Regions from separate parts of the Homo sapiens genome. Here region 1 is linked to region 2. The links are contacts of gene promoters, found by promoter capture Hi-C in blood cells and fetal thymus (Javierre and others, 2016). All regions are on one chromosome and are shown on one strand. The core of a region is centred on a gene start or on the middle of the fragment in contact, and the rest is flanking DNA. Distances in the headings are between cores, read along the strand shown. Region 1 holds the start of NHLRC2 (NHL repeat containing 2). Region 2 holds the start of PDCD4-AS1 (PDCD4 antisense RNA 1).

Region 1 (6,843 bases), core at 1,855-4,354, 3.0 Mb after region 2:
ACTTTAAAAATAATTTTTAAAAATACATTGCCCTTTTAAGTCCTACGGATTTATTGTATTTTATTTGTGTTCGAAAGTCCGCTAATTCCCAATGTGGAGGGTTGGGGATGTTTCCCTTAGCGCCTCTGGGACGCTGTCCCTAAGGCCTTATTCCATGTTGAATCTGACGCTCTCAATGTCCAGGCTCGGCTGCGGCGTGGGGACCGAAAAGGGGCGGGGTGGGTCGGACGGCAGTTTAATTACGTCCCCGGGAACTGCGCCGATTTGGACTTTTGGCACTTGGACCTATGCTTTAAAAAGAAAAAAGTGTCATTGGCGTGGAGTGGGGCTAGTGGAGGGTGAGGTGAATGCGCCGTTTGGAAACCACAGGACAGTGAACGTTTCGTCTCTCCCAGCGAGACTCTCCCGCGGGCCCGGCGGCCGCATCGGGAGCCCGGCGGAAACATGGCGGCGCCCGGAGGCCGGGGCCGCAGCCTCTCCGGCCTGCTCCCCGCGCAGACCTCGCTAGAGTACGCCCTGCTCGACGCCGTTACCCAGCAGGAGAAGGACAGCCTGGTCTACCAGTATCTGCAGAAGGTGGACGGCTGGGAGCAGGACTTGTCAGTACCCGAGTTTCCGGAAGGTGAGGGGCTGGCGTCGGGGTGGGGGCCCCTCCCGGCACCTCCCCTTCCTCGGGGACGGCGCCCTCCCGCGAAGCGGTGGGCTAGGCGGGTTTGTGCCGCTGGCGCCCCGGGGAGTGGCCCTTCGCCTAACTTGGGCCGCTGTTCGCGTGTTCTGCAATTCCCAGGGGTCCCCAAGCGGCCACCGACGGGGGTTTCCCTGGCACGGGGATCCACATACTCGTCTGTGTATCCTGAGTTCCGCCCGCGCCTGATATTAGCCAAGTGGACACTCCGTGAATATTTAGTGTCCCCGGTGGCAATGATTGCAACGTCCACACCATTCTGTCCATTCAATCTGGTTCCCCAGTGTCTTCTGGTCATCTTTCTGCATCATCTTGACATTTATTGATCACTTTTTCATGTATCACACACAGGGTTTTTTTTTGTTTTTTTTTGATACGGAGTCTCGCTCTGTCTCCCAGGCTGGAGTACAGTGGCGTGATCTTGGCTCACTGCAACCTCCGCCTCCCAGGTTCAGGCGATTCACCTGCCTCAGCCTCCGGAGTAGCTGGGACTACAGGCCCGCGCCACCACGCCTGGCTAGTTGTTTTGTTTTGTTTTGTTTTGTTTTGTTTTGTTTGTATTTTTAGTAGAGACGGCGTTTCACTATGTTGGCCAGGCTGGTCTCGACCTCCTGATTTCAAGTGATCCTCCCGCCTCCGTTTCCCAAAGTGCTGGGATTACAGGCGTGAGCCACCGCGCCCGGCCTGCCACACACAGTCCTAAACACTTGAGGGGATACCTAAACACTTGAGGAGATATTACCTTATTCAATTACCTCTATATCCCAGTGAGGTGCTCCTATCATTCCCCTTTCACAGTTGAGGAAATGGAAGCACAGAGAGGTTAAGTCACATGCCCAGGGCCTCACAGCTGATAACTGCCCCAGTTGGATTATACAGGCCCTGGATTTGCTGGTTTCTTAGCTGTACTGTGCTTCTCCGTTCAAAGTCGTGAAACTAATACTTTTAAAAATCGGAATCAATTATAGCCTATTTCCAGGGTTTAAATCCTGGCCATGTGAGCTTTTGGAGCATGAAGGAACAGATATTCCCGGCAGGGATGTTTGTGAAGCATATCTTGCCATGATAAATGAAAACGTATTTTACCTTCTTTGGATGGGAGTAGCATTGCTTTGCCTGATGGTGCTGGCATGTGTCCTGGCGTGACACTGAAACCACATGTATAGTTAATTGGTTGGATGTGGCAGAATTCAGTTATCTCATGGGAGGTATATCGGAACCTGCCTCCGACAACAGAGTATTGGTGTCTTTCCAAGTCTTTTGCACTACTCACCTTGAGAAGTGCTTATTTTTCCTGCTATTAATCTTATACTGGATTTGAAATATTGTGGAATTCTTACAAAAGAATTGGGTACATGAATGCTTATCCCATCAAACTTTAAAAGATTGTTTACATCTATACAAATATATGATTTTAAAAAGTTTTGGTGCAGAAGGTAGTTATATAGTAAGTACACTGTTATAAACAAGCAGGCCATCAACTGGGATTTGGGGAATGTTTTTTATTTTCTAGTCTTGTTTGTATTTACAGGGAGTGTATTTTATTCCCATGAGATTTGACCTCTGTGACTCATAACTAAAAAAACATATAATAAAATATTCAGGCTTTGTGTTTAACACAGTATGATTTTCTCCTGGACCCGATTATTGAGGACAGAATGCTAGAAATGACTGTTTTCTTGGTTTCTTTAGCAGTAAACTATAATCAGGAAGTCATAAACATAACTTTATTTGAAAAACTGTATGCTTTGTTCATTTCTTAGAAGACTTACATGTTTATAGGAGACAGTGCAGTGTAATGGATAGATTCACAGAGACCTGGAATTAGATCCTTGTTATTTCCATTTTGTTGGTTGTGTGATTTTGAGCAAGTTACTTGACCTCAAAGCCTTATATTTCTCACTTGCAAAACTGAACTATTATTTACCTTTCAGGATTATTATTTGTATTGAAAGTAATATATGTAAAATTCTTAATTCACAGAAAAGCTTACTAAATGTTAGCAGCTTTTTATTGTATTCATTGTAATTATTGTTATTGTAAAATAAATTTTATTAAGCCTGGTAAGTATCTAGCACGGTGACTAAGATGTAGTCATTCTTTCTATACCCCCTGATCTAAGCCACTCTTGACTATTTACAGAAAAGTCACAGAAGACAGATTAATAAATATTTTGCAAGTAGGATATGAAATATACATTAATTAGTCTGAAGTTTTGTATGATCACTTGATCTGGTATATAATTAATATTTTAACAAAATGGATAATTAAGAGGTCACTGTACCCTGAAACCTCATTAGTTTGGACTAATTGGCCCAAATACTAGTTTGATCTGCAGATTTTTTTTTCTAGAATTTTGTTATGATTGAGTAACAACAGTTATTGTTGTTAATCATTAGCTGTTACTGTTTACTTCTTCCTCCCAAGTTTGGCTTTCAGTTGCTAAAAGCTATTCTAAATACCTGCTTCAAGGCATAATTAATAGTTGTAATAGCTGCATTGAGTTATTTATAAGCAGTAAACTTTGTTTTCTTAAATTGGTTAAATAGGGATGCTGTACTTTATTATTAGTTAACAAAATCTTTCTTCATAGTACAGAGCTTTCTTTTTTTGGAGGAAAGGGAACACGTTCTTCATTAATATTAATGTTACCTCAATGAAATCTGTGACAATAATAAGTGTATTTTGCTTAACTTTACATTTAGCATATTTTATTTTGTATTTACGGTCTCATCCAAATCCAGAATATTTCAGTTTCTTCTCCTTTAGGAAACTGTTTTAGGCATTTTGTATGTTTATCCTTACACACATTTCACTCCTTTTTGATGTTTAGTTATATCTTACTATTCTTAAGCTTGACCTTTATTCTCAGTAGCCCATTTGTATCTAATTGTTTATGTAATTAGGTTCATTTACTATTTGATATTTCTTCCTTTTTTTTTTTTTTTGCCTAAGTGTGTTGCCTTTACTCCTTTTCACAGACTGTTACCCTATTTCTGAAAGAATTTAGTAGCTTTTTCTTGCTTTATTTGCAGATGGCATCATAATAGCAGCTTTCCCATCCTCTACTCCTCCTGCTCCCCCACCCGTACCCCCATCCCTTCCTTTTCTTTCTTCCCTTTTTGGGCTTTTAATCTCTGCTAATTTGCCTTTTTGGTATGTTCTTCCAAACCCAAATACCTGTTTAGTTACAGTCATAAAGATATATCTTTTATTTCTTTTGTTGATAGAAAATGATGGTTCATAGTAAACAACTATAAATACATGCAACTGCCACAGCCTTTATATGGTGCTACTCTCTCAAAGTGTTTATTTGCATTAGTCTTAAAAAAAAAGGTCACATTTTAATGGAAAGTTTTAGGTAAATTTTATCTTTCTCTTTAATCATTGTAATTTATTTTATGTAAATTTCAGGATTAGAATGGCTGAACACAGAAGAACCTATTTCTGTCTACAAGGATCTATGTGGAAAAATAGTCGTCCTTGATTTCTTCACCTACTGCTGCATAAACTGTATTCACCTATTGCCTGATCTCCATGCATTAGAACACACATACTCTGATAAAGGTATCTGCTCTTTAATTAGTTTCTAACAGACTGTCCTGGCATAGTCACTGGAAGAGTGGCTGACTCATTAGCTCATAGGAGAATGAACATTTGGCAAGGCTTCAGGGATTCTAAAAGTAATCTCTTATCTATGAATTAAAGACTTCATGTACCTTTTCATAAAGGATTAAGCTTAGTGATAGTGGTTTGCCTATCTAAAGAACCAGCATTTAGTATATGGTTTTTCTCTGCGGATAGGGGCATAATTTGCTATTTTTCATGATCAGATATTTTAAAAGGTCTTTTTGTATGTTGAGGCTGACTTAAATTTGTTCTATTAAAAAAATAAAATATCTGACCTTAATTTTACACTGTTTTCACTGTGATACAAAGGTTTAAAGTTCTTATTAGGAAATGTGACTAGGCTTTCATTAATATTGAATGACATGAACTGCAGTGGAATGCAAAATATAACAGATACTCTTTCTTTGACCCTGCTTCATTAAAAAATGATTTATTACAGCTAATGTTTTTCAAAGCACACTAGGAAATCCATTTTTATGGTATTACAAATTCTAAAGATGTAGGAGATTATACTTATTGGCTTTAGAAGTTTGAAAAATTAATCAAATTTTTTTTGTCTACTTTCTAAAAAAAGAACATGGGAGTAAATGAAATTAATTAAAAGTATCATTTAATTAGGTTCAAGTGAATTGAAGCACTAATCTTGGAGTGGATAAAAAAAAGAGATAGGGTCACCGATCCTGTGTTAGTAAAGATGAGAATAGACTATATACGTGTGAAAGTAAAGGATATTCTGAAACTTAACTTTAAAGGGGAAGTGATAGAGAAATCTTCAGTGCAACTGAAACTTCAGATGCTTTTGAATTGTAATACATTGTATGTTAAAATTACCAGTCAAATGATTTATCAAGAACTCAAATATTTCTACTAGCTAAATCCTGTTATTAAAAATTTATCTGTATGGATTTAAGAAATATGGATATCTTATCTCCTAGGTTTTAGATGCCAGTGTTTCTTGTTCAAGACATCACGTTTATTGAACATGTTGTTATGTGCAGGGTACTCTGCTAACTGCTGAGGAAATATGTAACAAAATTGAATAAAAAACATTATGGAACCTAAGGAAAGGAATAAGTCACTTTGCCTAGAAACATTGGAAAAGATTTCTCAGAGAAGGAGACAATTGAGCTAGAACTTGAAAAATAAGCAGGAGTGCAGCTGAAAATGAAAGTGGGGCAGAAGGGACACTCCTGGCTGAGGAAGCTTCAGGTAAACAAGCATGGAATCACAGAGGAGTAGGATTCTTGCTCCAAGAACAGGTAAATAATTTAGTGTGGCAAGATTGTAAGAGTTCATGGTAAAAGTAAAAGGAGACAAAGGTAGGTTAGGTTAGGAGCACATTGTGAAATGCATTGTATAGCGTTCTTAATAGTTTAGACTTTTCCTTCTGTGAGGATACAGAGATTGAAGTTTGTTTTTGATTTGTTTTTTTAGTAGACGGATGACATTTGTGTTTTAGAATGGCATTACACATGGAGTTAAGAATCTCAAAGTTTACCAGTTCCATACCTAAGATCACCCCTGAAAGACTATTTGGTGAACTCATGGTTAACCCCATACCTTAAGCAGATTCAGTGACTTCCTAGAATGGATCCTTATAATCTCCTACTAGTTTACTGGAAACATTGTTTTTATAGCACATTGTGACAAAAAAATTAAAAATATTTTTATATACAAATATGCTTCTGAAAAGCAAAATACTTTGTAAGTGGAGCAAGAATTCACTGTCAGTTTCAACAAAGAATCACAAAGCATACACAAAGAACAGGGAAGTACAGCCCATTCAAGAACAGGGAAGTACAGCCCATTCAAAGGAAAAAAATAAACCGATAGAAATTGTCTCTAAAAAATACCTGATACATATCTATGAGACAAAGACTTTAAAACACTGTCTTAAAGATGCCCAAATAACTAAAGGGAAATATGGAAAAAGTTTTAAAAAAACAATGTATGAAGAAAATGGAAATACAATAAAGAGAAAACCTAAATAGAAGCTAGAAAGAAATTCTGGAACTGAAAAGTGGACTAACAGTGAGGAGAAACTCACTACAGAGGCTCCTTGACTTATAGTGCAGCTGATAAACCCATGGTAAGTTGAAAATATCATGAAGTTGAGAAAGTATGTTTAATGCTTGGTAGCACAGCAGATGGTCCCTGACTTATGATGATTCGACTTAAAATATTTTGACTTGATGGTGGAAAGGTGATACTCAGTAGAAATCATAACTTTCTAAATCCTAAGGAGCTCTTTGACTTACAGTGAATTATGTCCAGATAAACTCATCGTAAAGTTGAAAAATTATAAGTCATACCCTCATAGGTCAGGGGCCATGTAGAGACTCGAAGACAGATTTGAGTAGGCAGAAAGAAGAATCAGTGAACCTGAAGATAAGGCAATGGAAATGATTAAGGAACAAACAGAACAGAGATTGAGGAAGAGAAAACAGAGCCTAAAGGACCTTGGAACACCATCAATCAGACCAGCATGTGCATTTTGGCAGAGAATATTTGAAGAAATAATGGTTGAA
Region 2 (7,171 bases), core at 4,672-7,171:
TGTTGGCCGTGGAATGAGGTCCTATGGCTCTGTCTGTGTCTTGCCAGGAGCCGCACCACTTCTGTCTGGGCCTTGGTTTGCTCATTTGTTATCTGAGCAAGTTGTCCTCACCAGGTCATCTCCTGGGACTTTATTCTTTTCTCTGAACTTCTACGGGGCTAGCTTCATTTTTATTATAAACATTTAATAACAAAAAGCAACATCTTTCTTGGGTTTCCCTTGTTCTTCTCTTGCCACTACTTTTATTTATTTATTTTTGCTCAAAATAAATAGAGGTTCGATTAGTTCCATTAATTAACTTCTACCCAGCATTTGTCTCTTCAGCCATCCCCCTTCCTCAGCCCTGCCTTACCCCTGCCCTTCTCTAGCCTTCTCTGTTTGTACTTCCTTATAGATTTGGCTGTCTTAATCACAACCCAAGATCATTCATTTCATTTATTTTCCAGAATGAAAAGTTCCTCATTTCTATACCAGGCTTTCTGGGCCCTACCTCCTTGTCTGGGAAGCAAGCCGACACTGCAGACATAGAGGGGAGGGGGGCATAATGGCAGCTATGTGCACTCAGGGCAGCTGGAGAAAAGAGGATTAATTCTGAGACATGTGAAGCCTAGCCCAGGATCCAGTGTTCCAGAAGAATGCGAATAAAGCCCCGAGAGATACAACTGGAGGAGCACTTCTCTACCCTGACTCAACACTATTAAATGCAGGGCGTGGCAGTTATAATAAATGCTGAAAAGCATCGGGTGGAATGGTCTGTGTTTGCAAAAGTCTAATGAACTGGAGTTTGCAAAGGCTTAGAACTTAGGCCAAGTATAGGAGATGTGGTAAAATTTGTGTTTTGGCGGGGGATATGGTGCGGGAAAGATTTCTTGCTGGAGTTCCTCAATGTTAATTGAGCTTTTTTTCTAAATCTCTAAGGTGGTAGGAGTGATTTGAGGGGGGGAAACCCCATAAAAGACAAATGTACTAAGAAAACCTTTCGAAACCTGAATTGAGGAAATAAAATCTTAGTAGTCTTTCAATTTTTCTTGGTACATACCACAGTAAAATATTGCATCTATTTTTTGAACTATGCTTCACATTACTCTGTGCTTGCTTTTTACCCCAGGAAAGACATGCAAGAAATGCCCCTTGAAGGGTTTCTAAACGTTGTACAATGCTTACTACCCTTTCCCTCTTCCCCACTTTCAGGCCCCTGAGATGGATTCATCTGATACCAGGAGCCTCTAGGACCCAGAAATTTAACTGTCAATCAAGAGGCATGTGAGGGAAAGTCCAGCCCAGCCTGGGTGCCAGAAGGTCTGGATTCCTGGTCTGCACATTCCCTACAACTCTGGGCAGAGATCTCATATGTACTTCTGGCTCAGCTACTAACTTAGCTGTGTGGCTTTAGGTGACCCACTTAACTTCTCTGAATCTGTTTCTCCATTTGTAAAATAAAAGGTTTGGACTAGGGAATCCCCAAATTTCCTTTCAGTATAAAAGTTCCATGATTACCAGTGACCTGCTCAAGGTTCATTATTTCCCTCATGTTTAAAGCACAGAATCTTGTCCACTTCATAGGGAGGTGGTGAAAGTCTATGCACATGTGCTCAGTAAATCTTAGGCCAACACAAATGTCAGCTATCATCATTATTATAAGAATTCTTTATGCAGCTCTTTCTTCAGAACATGTTTTATATCTTTTACCATTTGTGCTAAAGTGCAATTTTTGCCTTAGAGAAATTCTCAAAATTCAGGCTTTGGTTTGACAAAAGGAGACAAGGCGTCAGTTCAGGTAGATGAAGTTGCTGCAAATGACAGCAGCATCTAAAATTTCTTAGGAAGGAAGTGGGCTAAGACCTACCCTTAGCCCCCAGAAAGACAAATTCTCCTCAATTTCATTTAGGGGCATGACCATTTCTTATTAAGAAACAGAACTCTCAAATGAGGCTTTACCCTAAGAATGAAAAGGCCTTGGAGAGTTCCAAAGGCATTAATAGTAAATCTAGGTGCTTATCTTTTGCCTTCAACTGTGCTTTTTCAAGTACTTTACCCAAATTAATTAATTAGTGCTCCTAAACCCACACCAGCCATCACTTTGCCTTTGGGATGGAGGGAGGTGATATTATCTGAGCTTTGCATTAGGAGAAAGCCCCTGGGTTGACAGTCCCTCTGTCCATACCCGGTGGAATCCTCTCCTGCCAACAGTGGCAAACTCCTTTGTTTGTTTGTTTTGAGGTGGAGTCTGTCTCTGTCACCCAGGCTGGAGTGCAGTGGCGGGATCTCAGCTCACTGCAACCTTCGCCTCCTAGGTTCAAGAGATTCTCCTGCCTCAGTCTCCTGAATAGCTGGGACTACAGGCATGCACCACCACGCCCAGCTAATTTTTTTGTATTTTTAGTAGAGATGGGGTTTCACCATGTTGGTCAGGCTGGTCTCAAACTCCTGGCCTCAAGTGATCCGCCCACCTTGGCCTCCTAAAGTGCTGGGATTACAGGCATGAGCTACCACACCCGGCCAGCAAACTTTCTTATCTCTTGTTCTCCATTCCCAGGACTCCCATGGTACCAACTCAGTACCTTGCTCAGCATCCCAGGGTGTTAGAACTGAATGGCTGCTTATGGACTCCCTGCAATGGGCACCTCCTTCTTTTACAGCACAGAAAATTGAAGCATTCAATTCACTCAGGGAGAGGAAGTGAAACACCCAAAGCAACACAGCTAGTTAGGGACAGGGTCACTACCTTGTCTTAAGAGGCGAAAAATAGGAACTATCTCCCACCCTCTCCCCTGACAAAACCAAACACTCTTTGCGCCCCTCCAAGTATCTCAATACTGCTTAAGCCTGAGGAGTACGGGGAAGATGAAGTATGTAACGTTTATCTACTCACAAAGCACAGAGTTTCTGTTGCCACCTCTGAGCAGCTGTCTTGTTCTGGGCAACTGTGATCTCCCTTCCTCTCCTAAGCTCTTGGAATGAATCTTTCTTAAGGGAAATGGAAGTTGCAATTCCATTATTCTGTATAGAGTGAGTTAAGGGGAAGGCCTCTCTCCTTTTCTGTCATCTAATAGCTAAATTAACATAAGCCCATAGGCACAGGGATTCAGGTAACAGAAACCTAGTTTGTGACAATTACAACGTGAAATGAAAACATACATTGTGGCCCAGAAGCCCGGGCAGCCCTAGGCTTCAGATATTACCTACCCTAAAGTAGTATAATGCCTTTTACCAAGAACACAGCTGAATCAACTGTGCTTTTCATAGAACAGGCACACACTAAAATATTTGTGGATTGATTTGGTAGGCAAAAATTCTTGGCACTTGGATACTTCTCCATTTTCAGCTTATTCTTAAAAAAATTTTTTTTGTTAAATGTTCAGCTGCAAAGGCACAGGTGACTAAGTGTTCAACACAGCTGGAAGGAATGTTGGTGACAGTGGCTGTCATCTATATTTCCCAAGTTGGTTTCTAAATAACACTGCTTCTGGGGTATCTTGAGAAAAAAAGGTTCTGTGTTTAAACAAGGTAGGAAACATTACTAATCTTCCTACCTTGGTCTCCCAAGACACTAAAGGCACATAGCTTATTAAAAACACTGAGAAGGCTGGGCACGGTGGCTCATGCCTGTAACCCCAGCACTTTGGGAGGCCGAGGAGGGCAGATCACTTGAGATCAGGGGTTCGAGACCAGCCTGGCCAACATGGTGAAACCTCAACTCTACTACAAATATAAATATTAGCCAGGCGTGGTGGCAGGCGCCTATAATCCCAGTTACTGGGGAGGCTGAGGCAGGAGAATCACTTGAATCCAGGAGGCACAGGTTGCAGTGAGTCAAAATAGTGCCATTACACTCCAAACTGGGCGACAAGAGCAAAACTTCATCTCAAAAAACAAACAAACAAACAAAAAACCACTGAGAAGAGTTGTGGGTAAAGAAACAGTTTTATTTTTGTTTAAACGAGTTATTTCCAAGACCATTTGACCATGGAACAATCCCTCCCACATTTTTTTTTGCATGATATCTATTAAAGTTCCACAAAATTCATGTTCTTTGGAAAATAACTTGGGAATTACTGATTGAGCCCAATTTCTGAATTTTATTGGTAAAGAAAAAGGTCCTGAGAGGGGCTGAAGTTCTTACAGGAAGTTAGTGGGGGAGGTAGGACGACAACCCTATTTCCTGAGTGTCTGGCCCAACCTTGTCAACCACACGCAAATACGGCAGCATTCTCAAAGGTGGGTTCTGGGATCCCAGCCATCATGGGTACTGCTTGAGATGATACGCAAAAAGGACATGAACGTTTTCCTCCCTAATGGGTCCTTTGGGGGCAATTTGCTAAAACATAACAGGTTGTTTTAGATGCTTCTTAAAATTGGTAATCATATCCCATTCTTTCTTTATCTCATAGAACTCGGGATGCCTACCCAACACAGCCTGATTATGCTATATGTGCTTAGTAAGTACATTCAATGAATGACTAAATGAAAGACAGGGAGGAAGAAGGAAACAGTCCAGAACTGAAAGGGATGAGAAGAGAAAAAATGTGGAGAAAGAGAAGGATGGGTAACAAAGGAGCCAGCAGTCACTGATCAGTAGAGTATAGGTGAGAGAGGGGAAAGGAGACAGCTGCAGATAATGGAAAATAACAAAACAAAACTGAGGTCTGGGAAGCTCCGATTTTAAAAAGTGAACATGAGTTATGAGACTAATTCAGATACTGGCCACACCAGGAGGCCCCCGCCCAGGAGATGAGGATGACCACCAACTGCTGAGAATCTTTGTAAACTCAAATCAAGGTGTATTTATTGCACAGGCACAATAAATGAACAAGGCATCTTAAGTACTACAATGACAGGTGAGTGGGTCAGGCACAGTGGCTCACGCCTGTAATCCCAGCACTTTGGGAGGCCGAGGCAGGCAGATCCCTTGAGCTCAGGAGTTCAAGAGAAGCCTGGGCAACATGGCAAAACCCCATCTCTACTAAAAATACAAAAAACTAGCTGGGTGTGGTGGCACAGGCCTGTAGTCTCAGCTACTTGGAAAGCTGAGGTGGGAGGATGGCTTGACCCCAACAGGTTGAGGCTGCAGTGAGCCAAGATTGCACCACTGCTCTCCAGCCTGGGCAACAGGGCAAGACCCTGTCTCAAAACAACAACAACAACAAAATCACAGATGAGTAAGACACAGGTCTTTCCCTAAACAAGGTTACAGTCTAATGGGCAGAAGGGCTAGGACAGGGACTCAGATGAAATAATGCCAGGTAGAATGTGATCAGTGCCCCTGGAGGTGTGGCAAGCCAACACTGTGAGGAATCAGCGGCAGGAAGATCATATCAAATCACGAGGCTCCAGAAAAACTACGAGGGTCCAGGAATGGTGGCTCACGCTTGTAATCTCAACGCTTTGGGAGGCAGAGGTGGGCTGATTGCTTGAGCCCAGGAGTTCAAGACCAGCCTGGACAACATGATGAAACCCTGTGTGTACAGAAAATACAAAAATTAGCTGGGCATAGTGAGCTGTGCCTGTAGTCCCAGTTACTCAGGAGGCTGAGGTGAGAGGATCGTTGAGCTAGGGAGGCTGACGGAGGTCGAGGCAGCAGTGAGCTGTGATCATGCCACTGCATTCTCCTGGGCTAAAGGGCAAGCCCCTGCCTCAATTAAATAAAACAACAACAACAACAAAATAAAAAACTACCAGGAAGGGCCATGAGGCACAGAAGGATTGCATCAGGCGGAGATAGGAGATGAGAAGAGAGACATTTCAAGGTGATATATAAAGAACTACCAGGGGGTGAGGAAGCATATGGGGAGATGTGTGGAGACACAGCCTGAAAGTCTTGAAGTCACATCACGGAGCCTTGAATGACCGACCGAGGCGCTGACACTCAAGAGAGGCAATGGGAAGCCAGTGAAGGTTTGTGTGTGTGTGTGTGCGTGTGTGTGCAGAGAAATAGTAGCATTAGAGATGATTCCCAGGCAGGGTGACTGGGCAGCCAAGGGAAAGCGCTGGCCTGTGCGGGATGAGGCAGTTGGGTTCTGGAGAGCACAAGCAATCATTCGGTGCTGCCCATCAGACAACTGAAAAATCTGATCAGAGGCAGTGGCTAAGTCCCCGCCTGGGAACACAAAGGAAGCCTAAGGTTCTGGTTATCACCCTCAGGGGACCGTGACCTTGAAAGAGTAAGGATAGTACCAGCCAAAACCAATGCAGCCAAGAGGAAAAGTCACAGAGAACAGCGAGGGGAGGTGGAAGTTTCAATACAGAAATTGTAGCCATGGCTGAGAACCCCAGCACTGGAGGCCGGAATTTGTGCGTTTGAACGCCAGAGGCTTGGCTAGTCATGATTAGCAAAGGAACTTCAAAGAGTTTTGGAGCCTGCTTTATATCTGTGAAATGGGAATTATTTCCATCTCAAAGGTTTGAGGGGATTCGCTGAGAGAAACTTCTTAGCATGGGATCTCCAGAAACTGGAAGCCACAGAGAAAGCAGCGGCCAGAGGGAGGAGGAATCGGACAGGCTGATCACTTGGAGTGTTCGCCTAAGCAGTTTCTAGAAATGGAGGCAGGGACCATCAGGAAGCTCAAAACCTTTGCTTCAGCCGAGTTTGCAGAACGCCCTGTGAGGAGAATGGGTGAGCTGGGTCGAGGAAGCTTCATCCTCGTCCCCATCCCCCAGCACTGCCCTTTTCCCAACGCTCCCATCCCGCCACGCCTCCCAACATACCCCCACCCCGACTTCCCGCTCAACTCCCGCTCCAGCCAGTCCCAGGAGCCACATGCGCATGCGCCCTCCCGCGCCCCTCCCCAACTTTCCACGTTTCACTCCTCTCCCTTTTCCTCCTCAGCTCCGGCTCCGCCGCCACGATTGGCCAGCCGACCACCCGGCCTCGGCCAATAAGCGCCGCCCTCTCGCCCCCGTGTTACTGGGTAGAAGAAAACAAAAACAAACAGAGCGAGAAGGGCCAGAGACTCTCCGAGGCGGCGGCAGAGACAGAAGAGCGGGGTCGGGGCCGGCTGACCAGGAACCTGGGCGAGCAGCGGCGGGGGCCCGAGGGGTCAGTACCAGTAGGCGCGGCTCACACGCTCGGGAAGACTGCGCCCTCTCCCCCATCCCTCCTCGGAGGCAGCCGCAAGATGGGAGGGGGCGGGGGCGGAGGCGTGGGGGTCGCGGTCCTGTCAGGTCCGGGCCT

Evidence for each region. Contacts are between HindIII fragments. The CHiCAGO score rates a contact against its expected background, and 5 or more counts as called.
Region 1: a fragment that was not itself captured here is called in contact with the fragment with the promoter of PDCD4-AS1 in region 2 in 1 of 17 cell types (erythroblasts); the score reaches 7.8 in erythroblasts.

Annotation. Positions count from the first base shown.
Region 1 is chr10:113,854,429-113,861,271 of GRCh38, forward strand. NHLRC2 (NHL repeat containing 2) reads left to right here and starts at 233. Exons shown (of 11, transcript NM_198514.4): 1 at 233-622; 2 at 4,100-4,252. The coding sequence starts at 445. LOC124902506 (a long non-coding RNA gene) reads left to right here and starts at 4,259. Exons shown (of 2, transcript XR_007062295.1): 1 at 4,259-5,574. RefSeq lists a silencer at 343-702 and an enhancer at 713-1,417. The HindIII fragment of the contact is 866 bases long and covers 2,672-3,537 here.
Region 2 is chr10:110,864,983-110,872,153 of GRCh38, forward strand. PDCD4-AS1 (PDCD4 antisense RNA 1) reads right to left here and starts at 5,922. Exons shown (of 1, transcript NR_026932.1): 1 at 3,908-5,922. PDCD4 (programmed cell death 4) reads left to right here and starts at 6,946. Exons shown (of 12, transcript NM_014456.5): 1 at 6,946-7,036. It overlaps LOC124902500 (a long non-coding RNA gene), which reads left to right. Exons shown (of 2, transcript XR_007062288.1): 2 at 1,192-1,466. RefSeq lists enhancers at 1-165, 2,567-2,616, 5,444-6,054 and silencers at 2,737-2,806, 7,059-7,108, 7,139-7,171. The HindIII fragment of the contact is 8,654 bases long and covers 1-6,630 here.